2 separate regions of the Homo sapiens genome follow, and region 1 is linked to region 2. Evidence: promoter capture Hi-C in 16 types of primary human blood cells and fetal thymus (Javierre and others, 2016). All regions are on one chromosome and are shown on one strand. Each heading gives the region's core, a stretch centred on a gene start or on the middle of the fragment in contact. The rest is flanking DNA. Distances are from core to core; before and after follow the strand shown. Region 1 overlaps OSMR-DT (OSMR divergent transcript). Region 2 holds the start of EGFLAM-AS1 (EGFLAM antisense RNA 1).

Evidence for each region. The method cuts DNA at HindIII sites, captures the fragments that hold promoters and counts their contacts. A CHiCAGO score of 5 or more calls a contact.
Region 1: a contact is called between a fragment that was not itself captured here and the fragment with the promoter of EGFLAM-AS1 in region 2, in 1 of 17 cell types (M1 macrophages). The highest score is 5.2, in M1 macrophages.

Annotation. Positions count from the first base shown.
Region 1 is chr5:38,762,289-38,768,005 of GRCh38, forward strand. All of the region lies in intron 2 of OSMR-DT (OSMR divergent transcript), which reads right to left. It also overlaps the pseudogene LOC100132789. Among named protein-coding and RNA genes, the nearest start is that of LINC01265, 45 kb to the left of the region's middle. RefSeq lists a silencer at 3,039-3,333. The HindIII fragment of the contact is 2,009 bases long and covers 753-2,761 here.
Region 2 is chr5:38,424,911-38,431,507 of GRCh38, forward strand. It overlaps EGFLAM-AS1 (EGFLAM antisense RNA 1), which reads right to left and starts at 2,466. Exons shown (of 2, transcript NR_046737.1): 1 at 2,182-2,466; 2 at 1-171. It overlaps EGFLAM (EGF like, fibronectin type III and laminin G domains), which reads left to right. Exons shown (of 22, transcript NM_152403.4): 13 at 57-182; 14 at 2,099-2,342; 15 at 6,267-6,378. It also overlaps the pseudogene LOC124901186. RefSeq lists an enhancer at 1,688-2,887. The HindIII fragment of the contact is 14,108 bases long and covers 1-5,387 here.

The DNA.
Region 1 (5,717 bases), core at 507-3,006, 340 kb after region 2:
TATTGGACTAGAATCAGTGCTCCTCAACTTTTCCACCAAATTTTAATCCACTGTCTTTTAATTTAATCACTTTACCAGATTATCATCAGGCGCTGTCTACTTACTAGTTCCTGACGAGCAGGAATGGTTCACGCTAGTGGCCCGTATGCCACTGATACGCCCTTACATTTCTGTTCCTGCTACTTGAGTCATATTATCCCCAAAACTGTTTGTGTCTTTTGTACTTACATAACATGACTTAATTAAATATTATTTAAATGTAAAGAATATGAGTACAAAAAGAAGTAGAGCTGGTATTTCTATGAAAGCTGAACTAACAAGGTGGTTGATATGCAAGGATAGATTCTTGTCTGTATGTTTAACATATTTTGAAATGAATAGTGAATGTGGAAACACTAAATTAAATGGCTTGGAAATTTATGATTAATGCAAGTCATTAAAAAATTGCTTCCAGTAATGTGTTTATGAGATGACTTTTAAAGAATTGTAGAACATTTTGAGGGACTTTTCAGACCATTTGCTTTTCTAGTGGCTTGAATTTCTCACATGGACAATGCACTTAGAACTATTATGAGCAAGAAAGACAATGGGAAATGACAATCGATGAACCCATTCTCATAGAAATCCCCTTAGACATCAAAAGACAAGGGGGTGAAAATACATTTATGTTTTTTAAGATAAAACATTTCAGGCAAGTACATGTCATTTTCTATGATTCCCTTATTTAGTCAATATTTTAGTGGCTATTTTGAAGCTTTATGTTTTACCCTAAAGATTTTAACTTTGCACCCTACTCTGTGGTAGCCATTAATACTGTTCACCAAATCTTTCTCATTACCATTTGTGTACATATTGTTTAAAATCGGTGAATTTCTAGGCTAGGTTCTGGTAACTGAAGGGCTTTTATAAGTACTGTATATTGTCTATACCAAAGGAATGCTGCAAACACAGTCTGGAGCAAAATGGGAACCAACATGTAAGAGATAATATTGAGTATCAACTTGATTGGATTGAAGGATGCAAAGTATTTTTCCTGAGTGTGTCTGTGAGGGTGTTGCTAGAGGAAATTAACATTTGGGTCAGTGGATTGGGAGAGGCAGACCCATCCTCAATCTGGGTGGGCACCATCTAATCAGCTGCCAGCGAGGCTATTAGTAAAGCAGGCGGAAGAGTGTAGAAGGACTTGAGTTGCTGAGTCTTCCAGCCTTCATCTTTCTCCCGTGCTGGATGCTTCCTACACTCGAACATCAGACTCCAAGTTCTTCAGCTTTTGGACTCTTGGACTTACACAAGTGGTTTGCCACGGGGTCTTGGGCCTTTGGCCACAGACTGAAGGCTGCACTCTCGGCTTCCCCACTTTTGAGGTTTTGGGATTCGGACTGGCTTCTTGCTCCTCAACTTGCAGACGGCCTACCGTGGGATTCACCTTGTGATTGTGTGAGCCAACACTCCTTAATAAACTCCCCTTCATATATACATCTATCCTATTAGTTCTGTCCCTTTAGAGAACCCTGACTAATACACAACATCTTTCTAAAGTCAGGCTTAGAAATTCTAATCCAGTAACTTAAGATGTTTCCTTTCTCTGATAACAGAGTTGATTCATATCTGGCTTCTAAGCCACCATTCATAGGTATAGTCAAGAAAAGACCACCAAAAACAAGACCAACCAATCCACCTCATTTTATGGTATGGGTTTCAAATTCCAATGACCTCAATTCAAAGGTAAATTTACAAAACTTCTGTAAAATACATGTACTATCAGAAATGGGTTCTCTGCCATTGGTGAGCCGACAGCTATATGAGCCTGTGTCATGTTCAAGATGCATAGAAAAAGACTGTTTGCTATTAGGCCACGGAGAACAGCATTAAGTTCAACATATATTGATCCATGTTCAAGTAGTTTCCTTTCTGCTTCTGGAAGCTGGTTAATTTTTCTAGTTATGATGCCTAAAATTACGTTTTCCTTGAAAGTGCTATCTGGCTCCTGATTTTCCATCTTGAGCCTTATATTCTCCTTCCTCCAGGTTCCAGTGCCTGTCCAGGTCTTCCTCAGACATGCCAGGGCTCACTACAACTTTTGTTCAACTCACCTGAGTGCAGCCATCTTTGGCTGACAGGTGACTCTACTGTTTACCAAATATTTCTAGTTCTTCTGGACACATGGTAGGATTGCCCTTCCCTGCCCCGCTTTGAAAATAGCTGGGTCAAACGTGACATGATTTGACCAATGAAGTGTGTGTGTGGAAGTGACATATTCTACTCCCAGGTGGGAGTATTAAGATCTAGCTCATTATTTCCTCTGGATTTACTGTTGTCTTTTTTTTTTTAGTGGGGGACAGAGTATCACTCTGTCCCCCAGGCCAGAGTGCAGTGGCGCAATCTCGGTTCACTGCAAACTCCACTTCCCGAGTTCACGCTATTCTCCTGCCTCAGTCTCCCATGTAGCTGGGACTACAGGTGGCCGCCACCACGCCTGGCTAATTTTTTGTACTTTTTTTTAGTAGAGATGGGGTTTCACCCTGTTAGCCAGGATGGTCTCGATCTCCTGACCTCATGATCTGCCCACCTCGGCCTCCCAAAGTGCTGGGATTACAGGTGTGAGCCACCGCGCCCGGCCTACTGTAGTCTTTTCTTCCACTAAGGCAATACGTAGAGGTCTAGATAAAGGCTTCTCTGTTCATCTGAATCATGGAATGAAGAATGCTAGGAACTCAGCCCCCAGCTGACCCTGACGGATGTGTAGCATAAACAAGAAATAAGCTTTGCTGTTTTAAATCACTGAGATTGAAATTTTTGTTAGTGTTGTCAGAGTATACATAATCCATGATATATGTGTACTTGTTTACATATATAAACGTATCCTCCCCCTTCCCATCAAATTTTAAGATAATTTAGCAATCCAGAAAGACACACCACATTTATCTGGTGACTGTGTACACTGCCCATAGTTTTTTCCCAATTTGAGAAGCATAGAACTAGTTGTTCTTCAGGATCCCTTCAAAAGCTAGCGTTATGTCATGCTATGTATGAGGAGAGAACAGGCACCATGTCACTTAACTAAACCAAATACAATTAAATTAATTTGATTGGAGAGCTGTTCTATCTGATTGTGGGGCAATTGATTCGATTGCTATAGAGTCCATTGGATTTGGTTGTTAGCGTCTCAGTTGTCTTAATGAGGGGATCGGATTGCACAGTGATCCCACTGATTGTTTTGGCAGTTGGCCTACCAACTGTTGGCCAGTCAGCCAGAGCCACAGTTTGACCCCAGGACAGGATGTAAAATTAATTTGCTTGAATGCAACGTTCAAGCATTTTTCTTGGTAAGCTGGTATGTGTCAAGTACTATCATATAATAAATTATACTTATCAACTGCAAATATTTAAAATTTACATTCTTCCTTGTATACATGCCACCAAGAACTCTAAATATTTTACAATGCTATGCACTGTGGGCCAAGCTTAAGTTTTAAACTCTGTGCAGACCTCCGCTTCTCTGAAGAGCTTCATTCCAACATTCCTTAGGGTCAAAAACTGACCATTGCTTGCCATTAATAACAACTGATTCTGATTCCATCATTTAAAATGAAACTATTTATGCAATGGTGGAAGAATGAACTCTACACTCCAGGAGACCAATGATTTGTCTATTCTATTCACTATTGTGTGCACTCAAACAATGCCTGGGCTTGTTGTAGATGCTGGCTACCTATAGTATCTGAAGATATTGGATGAATAAGTGAATAAACAATTAACTAATAATTCAGAAGCACCAAAATTTCTTAATTTCAGCTATTTTCTAGAAGTGAGGAAAGTGCTTTTCTGAATATGTGAAGCAGTATAACAATGATTAAATGTTTTGACTTGGGAGTTAGTTGAGTCTGAATTTGATTTCTGATTGTGATGTTGTTGCAGATTGCACTTCACAAAGATGCTTACAATGACATTTCCCATTCCACACACTCTTTCACAATATGGACTTGATACTCACCCATCCTGAGATAGTCAGTTTCTCTACTCTTGGTAACCTGAATCTGGGTCAATCTTTTGATTAAGTTTGAGCAACTTAATTCAGCAGAAGTGATGATGCACCAGTTACAGACATAGCTCTTAACTGATCTGGCAACTTTTGCTTCCTGCCTCTTGGAAGCCAGCCGCCAGATAAAAATTAGAATCCTCTGATATTTCAAGATTCTGGTTGGATTGCTGGATGGATAATGAAAACAGAGAAAAGTAACGTTTTAAGGGAAAATAGGATGGATTCATACCAAACATGTTGAATCTGCTTTGTTTTGGGGACACACAATTTTAGTAGGGAGTTGGCTACATAGGTTTACAATTTAGGAGAGTCATATGTACTGCAGATGCAGACTTGGGAGTTGACAGCTAATAGATCATAATTGGACACATGTGAGATGACCTAGAAAAAGCACATAGGATGAGAAAGAAAGTGGGCCTGGGGCATAAGTACAAGGAACATCATCATTTTAGGAAAAGGCAGAGGAAGAAAAACCACAAAAGGGTAGGTAGAAACCCAGGAGAATTCTATATCACAGAAGCCAAGAGAAGAAGGGACTTCAAAGAAGATGTCAAATGCTGCTGAGATGACAAGGGAGTTGAGAACAGATCTACTTGGAAAAATCAAAAAGCTCTAGTCTCCGTTTTCAGACTCCCTTGCAGCTAGGGTTTGGATTTGAATGAAGTTTCCCCGGTTAAATGAACTTACTTGATATCTGGAAAGTGAAACAGAGCAATCTTCCTGGAACTTTGGCTTTTTCCACACCCACTGATGATACATTTATAGAAGTGGTAACTCAGTTCTATTTCTAGAGAACATACTAGCCATTAAGGTCCTGATTATCAAGGACATTAAAAGCAAAATCAAAAAATCTAAAATAACTTTTAAGAAGACAGCATGGAACTTAATGTGCCAAAAAGTGCTGTCAAGTTGAAGTTTTTAGATCTGGACATAAAATGTGAAGATCAGACCCAGAGTATCATCTTCATTAAATTTGAATAACAAGACCCATTTAAGTCATAAAAACATCAGTTTGCATTAACCTATACACTGCATAAAGAGCTGAAATATGGAGAAGCAAAGTGGATAAGATGTGCTTGAAGGACGGGGCATGCAGAAACCCTGCTCCAAGTGATGTACGGCTTTGGGGTCTCTAGATGCTAAAGCAGCAGACAGACTCAGGTTGGCTTCTGCTGTGCATCCAAGAAGTCAAATAGATAACTGAGAAGGAACCAGGTTCAGCAGATAGTGGTGGCTGTCAGGAGCTAAAGGGCTATGCTTACTTGTATGGTATGTAAATTACTTTGGACTAATATCAACCTTTTCAACTGCTATAATTGGTGACAATTTCATAAAGAAATCTGGAATTTACAAAGTCTTTCCCATTTTATATCTCTGTTATATGACTTTCTTCTGAGAGGGTTAGGAAAAACAATTGAAGAACCTTCACTTTATGGGCTAAATTATGGCAAGGCAGGGTTAGAAAATTTTCTCTAAGGTCATAGCAGAAGCTACTTAAGATTTACCCAAGTTGCTAAATAATGCTGAGGATACCTCCTTAAAACATAGTTGCTTGCAGATTTAAAAGACCTTTATCTCATGTCATTCTTGCCACAACCCTATAATGATAACAAGGCAAGAGTTCACTCCTAATTTCATCTTACAAGTGGAGCAACTGAGAGTCTGGGGAGTTTGA
Region 2 (6,597 bases), core at 1,216-3,715:
TGTGTTGGACTGGCACACATGGAGGATTGGCTTTGTAATTCCCATTCTGTATTTAGGGGAATGCAGCAGTGGAATCTGTGATGAGGCCTCGTGCATCCATGGTGGCACCTGCACAGCAATCAAAGCCGACTCCTACATTTGCCTCTGTCCCCTTGGGTTTAAAGGTCGACACTGTGAAGATGGTGAGAAAGAAGCAAGTTGAAGGCGGTTTCTATCTGCATGTTAATTTGTGTAGATGTACTTTATCATCAATATAGTTTCTTTGTTAATTTGTTTGTTTGTTTTTGAGACAAAGGCTCCCTCTCTTACCCAGGCCGGAGTGCAGTGGCGCATCTCGGCTCACTGCAACCTCTGCCTCCCGGGTTCAAGTGATTCTCTTCTGCCTCAGCTCCCGAGTAGCTGGAACTACAGGCGCCCAGCTAATTTTTGTATTTTTAGTAGAGATGGGATTTCACCATGTTGCCCAGGCTGCTCTCAAACTCTTGACCTCAAGTGATCCACCCGCCTCGGCCTCCCAAAGTGCTGGGATTACAGGCGTGAGCCACCACGCCAGGCCTCATCAATGTACTTTTAACAAATCTAACAAAGCCCCATACATTTTTATGGGATCAACATTGCTTTGTTGGGAGAGATGGGGGAAACTTTTTAAACAAGGTTGGAGTGTCTCTGAGTGCCAAAATTTGTTTGGTAATGAGAACTCACTCATCTGATGTTGAGCCTTTCAGCACTTCTTACTGCAGGGCACCTCCGTCCCTCAGCCAAACATATGTTCATTTCAAGATGCTAAGAATCAGTGGGCTCCTCTTGGCCCTTGAATAACTTTTAAAAAGCCTGTATTGGTATGGTTTGTATCAGACTGAATTCAAAGCCTTTAAAGCTCAGGCTCATGCTCTTTAGAATTTCTGTCAATTTCTGATAAAAGATTGGGAAGATGAGGCCAGGCGCAGTGGCTCACGCCTATAATCCCAGCACTCTGGGAGGCCGAGGTGGGCGGATCACGAGGCCAACGTGGTGAAACTCCGTTTCTACTAAAAATACAAAAATTAGCTGGGTGTGGTGGTGCACAGCTGTAATCCCAGCTACTCGGGAGGCTGAGGCAGGAGAATTGCTTGAACCCAGGAGGCGGAGGTTGCAGTGAGCCGAGATAGCACCACTGTACTCCAATCTGGGTGACAGAGCGAGACTCCATCTTGGGAAAAAAAAAAAAGATAGGGAAGGTAGACACAGAAACGTTAACAATGTGATGGGACAAAAGTAACCTTTTTTTGTACTGTTCTACTAAATTATGCCACATTTTAATACTGTATATACAGAGAGTATGTAAATATATATACATGCACACACATGTGTATATAAACATGGAAACACATGCACACAAATACACATATGTGCGCTCACACAGGCAAATAATAACAGAAAATTTCAAAGATTTTGGAAAATCATGGAGGGTTCCAAAAGTGATTTTGGAAAATCATTTTTGCAGAATTCTGAAATTAAAATAAAAAGAAAATAAAACTGAGGCTAAGATCACAAAACTAGTCAAATTCTTCCCTAATTCAGATTTGGACCTAAGATACCATATTGGGGAAAACTTTTGTGATCTCAAATCTCATGTCACCTAAAAGAGGGCATGTGAGTCAGGGTAAGCCAATGCTGTTACATACCAGCTCATATTTCAGTAGCCTTACATAATCAAGGCTGGTTCTTGCTCATATTACAAAATCACTGCAGGTCAAAGATGGTGGTGAGAGAGGGGGTTCTGCTCCACACAGTTATACAGGGACACAGTTTCCTTCCATCTAATGGCTCTTCTAGGGCCTTAGAGTCCTCCACTGATACTTGCATCCTGCCAGCACGTGAGAGGAGAGAAAGAGCATGGAGGATGGAGGGAAGTTTTAGGGGCCAGACTTAGGGTGCTCTATGATTCTTCCACCCATGTTCTACTGGCCAGAATTCAGTCACACCACCAACCTAACTGCAGGGCTGCTGGGAATTGTAGTTTAGGTCTGTACCCAGGAGGGAAAGAACACAGCTATGGGTGCACATCTGGCCAGTTTCTGCCACAGAGGGATTTCTAACACCATGCTTGTTTTTTCAGCTTTCACCTTGACCATTCCTCAGTTCAGAGAGTCTCTGAGATCTTACGCTGCAACTCCCTGGCCACTGGAGCCCCAGCATTACCTTTCCTTCATGGAATTTGAGATCACATTTCGGCCAGACTCAGGAGATGGTGTCCTCCTGTACAGCTATGACACAGGCAGCAAAGACTTCCTGTCCATCAACTTGGCAGGGGGCCACGTGGAGTTCCGCTTTGACTGTGGCTCTGGGACCGGTGTCCTCAGGTGAGGGCTGAAAACTTCTGGGACTCTTTCCCTTAAAAAGGCAAATAGTAACTGCTTCAGAAAAAAACCAAATCGCCATTCAACAGCTCACACTCATCCTGTCTTCTCTACATGCTTATCTTCTGAAACTTGTCCTGACTTGTCCTGCTTCAGGCAGATGACAGGCTTCCTATAGAGAGTGCTCTCCTGCCCACAAGGCTTCCTTTTCTCAAATAACTACCCAACAGGTAGCAATTGTATGCTTCAAACTATGGAAAATGGACTTGCTTCAGGTGGAGGTAAACTGCCTCCATTTCCACCTAAAGTTATGTCATGTCATCCGCAGAAACTTGATGAACTGTAACTAGTCAGCATCTCATACAGAGCATCACATGATGGGCACCCAGCAAATACATGTCAACTAGTAAAAAAGTATTAACAAATATTTTTGAACAAAAATATCCTTGATGACCTCACTCTAAATATTCACTTTCCTCTTGAACTATTTCTTTAATGGAAATTGACAGTGAATCATCAGCAATGCAGAGACCCGTTCCCTAAGCAATATGCTCAAGAAAGATGTGTGATGAGTGGTTTCAATAGCATAGCAGGAAATGGGTGCTTCTGCAGTACTTGCTGGTATTTGCAGAATTGGTGTAAGTAGTCAAAACTTTCCTACTGTTATCTAGTTTGTACTATTAAATTACTTAGCAGGTCGATTGTTCCTTGGAGCCTGTAGTTGGTAGATGCAGACGCTTTTATTTGTTTATGTCTCCCATCTTTTTATTGTGTTGATGGTAGTTTTAACCTTCAAGCCAGAGGGGCCACTAATCGCATGCAGACATGCTTCTTGTTCCTACATTTGTCTAATTCGTCTTTTTTGAAACTCACTAGGATGTTTTGCTCCATGGTGCCCTGTAACAGGGTATCAGTTAGTCTGTTGTTTCAAAGAATATTGCAAACTGTTTTCAATCTTTATCCATATTGCTAGACTGTCATGTTTAAAAAGAGTATGTAGGTGAGATGCTACAACCATGCATTGCCCTTAACTACTGATCATTTTTCCTGGCTGATAGAAAATGCTCACTGCATTAGGTTTTAACAGTTCTTAAAAAGGATGGTTTGTTTTTGTCCTTGTGGCTGAATTCCTGCACATCAGTGACACCTTCCCCTCTAGGGGAACGGACAAATATTGTTGTACCTCTGGTTATGCAAAAACATCCTATATTTCAAGACAACTTTGGTGGGGATTTAATTGATTCAATTTACATATGATTATGCAAAATAGCCTAAGCAATTCACTTAGAACTGTATGTCAAGTTGACAAAGGAAGACACCTTGAATATCACCTTGCACTTTTAAATGGTTTTCTTCCTGGATAGGGAATGACCAGAAAGATCCAGGAGAGGTTCTGGGCTCATCAGCCCTCCTCCTGGACAGACTACCCCCTCCACACTGCCTCTCTGCAGTGGCAGCTCCAGCTGTGGGGTCACAAGCACATGGAACCCTTAGAAGTCCAGCATTTCTCTCTTTCATAACTCTGTGCTTATTTTTGACACGAGGTGCTTTTAATTTTTTTTTGTAAATTTACTAAGTTATTGTTTCACTGCCTGTCAGCAAAGGCAACTGGAAAAAGAATTTTTAAGAATTAGGTGATGAAAATGAGGCAAGAGTTTCTGAGGGACAAACCACCATCTGCCCCCTTATCCTATCCCCTCCTGAGCGTAAGCTAACAACAGTGATTACTCTTGGTGTTTCAGATGCCCCATTGGAAGCTGTTTATTTTGAAAACCATTTCAAAGACTTCTTGCTCAATTAAGACAATGCAGTGAAAACTCAAACTACAGGAAGTTGTGGAATTGGCCAGATCATTTTAACTTTAGGAATAGGATAAGATGGGCAAATTCATTATGAACTTGATTAAAAAATCACGACAATTGGAATGAGTTCTTGATGGCTGTGATCGATAAAAGGATGTTGAGGAAGGTGGCATATTGACAGCAAATGACCTCTGCAGTACAAAAACATGAAATGGCTCTGTTATGGAGATAGACCACTTAAAAAGGGCTGCTTATTTCTTTATTGCATATTGATTTAGCCAAGGTGATTAAATTCTAATTGCTAAGAACAGATCACAAAATCATTTGCCAAAGCAAAAATCAAGTGAGGGGGTGGTGACCTTTCAATAATTGTGCCCATTGGTATTCCTCATGGTTTTCTAAAGATGATCCAGGACCACAAGATAATTGGGAAGTTCAGCGAGGGCCAGGAACTAGACATTGCTAGAAATACAAATGCAATAATGAGTCTCTTTCTGCACACCTCACTATAAAACGTAATGAGTAAAACTTGCATAAATATCATTAAACTTTAAGCACTTCCACTTTGAATGAATAATTGAACTTTTAATGTAATTTTAATCATTTTTACAATATCAGAAAATATGGAATCTATTTCCCTCCCAATATTTTATTATGAAAAATTTCAAACATATAGAAAAATTGGAAGAATTGTACAGTAAGCATCCTGATACCGAGCACCTATAGTCTGTAATTAACGTTTTGCTATATTTGCCTCATCACATATCTAGCCATTATTATATCTGTCCATCCATCCTTCTTAATTTTTAAAAAAAAATTTTAATGACCAAAACAAAGTATCTAAAACTGCAGCTTCTCAAAGAACCACTTGTTCTTGCCCATCTGTTCCTCTCTTCAAACTTGACCTTGGCCTCCCATTGGGCCTTGTGGTTAAGAGCAGGGTCTCTGAAGACATCTTTATTGATAACAGTTTTGTCCAAGGGGATATCCGGTGGCTGTAGGGGCAATCTGACGTGCCATCATCAATGTTCTTCACGATGACAGCTTTGCGTCGGAGTAGCATCTGGCCAGGACCACCACCAGTTTCCCAGGTTTCAGGAACTTGCCCTTTTCAACAGCAACCACTCAGGCCTATAGCAGAAAGGTCCTTCTTATTTTTTATGCGTTTCAAAGTATGTTACAGACATTGGTATGCCAAATAATTTGTTTTTTACATCATAGCTCTTACAATTTTTCTCTTCTTCCAAGCTTGTGTGCAATTATGACCATATTTTATCTTCATGCCACCTCTCATCTAGAAAACCCATTTCACCAGACTCACTGAACCCCATTTCAGGCTCATTGTAAGGAATAAATAAAACAATAAATGCAATGTTCCTACTGTATGAAGGCATCCAATAAATAGTAGGTAATCCTGCTGTTGTTACTAAGCAGTAATTAGTGTTTTCTTTTTACTGAATGGATTGGTGTGCCTAAGGTTAGCATTAGTTTCCTCATGGCTAGATTGACAAAAATGATCCATAACATGCTAACCCATGCTTGGTTTCCTTCTATGTTCATCAGGGTTCTCCAGGGAAACAGAACCAATAGGCTATAAATAGACATGTAGAGAGATTTATCATGAGGCATTGGCTTGCATGATTATGGAGGCTGAGAAGTCCCCTGGCCTGCCATCTGCAAGCTGGCAGCCCAGGAAATTTAGTGGTGTATTTCCAGTCCAAGCCTGAAGGCCTGAGAACCAGAGAGCCCATGATGTCCGTTCCAGTCCAAGTCAAAGGCCCAAGTACCAGGAAGCTGATGATGTAAGTCTTGGTCCAAGTCTGAAGACCAAAGAACCAGGAGCACTGATGTTCAAGGCTAGAGAAGGTGGATGTCCCAACTCAAGAAGAGAGAGCACTTCCCCCCTCCTCTTCCTTTTTGTTCAGTTCAGAGCCTCCGCAGATTCCATGATGCCTGCCCAGGTTGGTGAGGGCAGATCTTTACTAAGTTTACTGATTCAGATGCTCATCTCTACCAGAAACACACTCACAGACACACCCAGAAATAATGTTGTACCAGCTATCTGGGCATTCCTTATCCTAATCAACTCGATACATAAAAATAATATCACATCTTCCTTCCACAGGAGTGAAGATCCCCTCACCCTGGGCAACTGGCACGAGCTTCGTGTATCTCGCACAGCAAAGAATGGAATCTTACAGGTGGATAAGCAGAAGATAGTGGAGGGAATGGCAGAGGTAAGAACAGTACACCTTTTCTCTTGATGGTTAGTGTGAGCCAGATTACTGTTTTCTGCCTGTCTTGGTAGAAAAGCAGCAGAGTGTTCTGGTTAACTACATGGACTTCAGTGCCTGTGTGGAAATCCCAGCTCCCCACTGGGCAAATTACTTAACTTTTCTATTGCTTAGCTACAAATGGGGATAATAATAGTATGGGCCTCATAGAGTTGTGAGGAT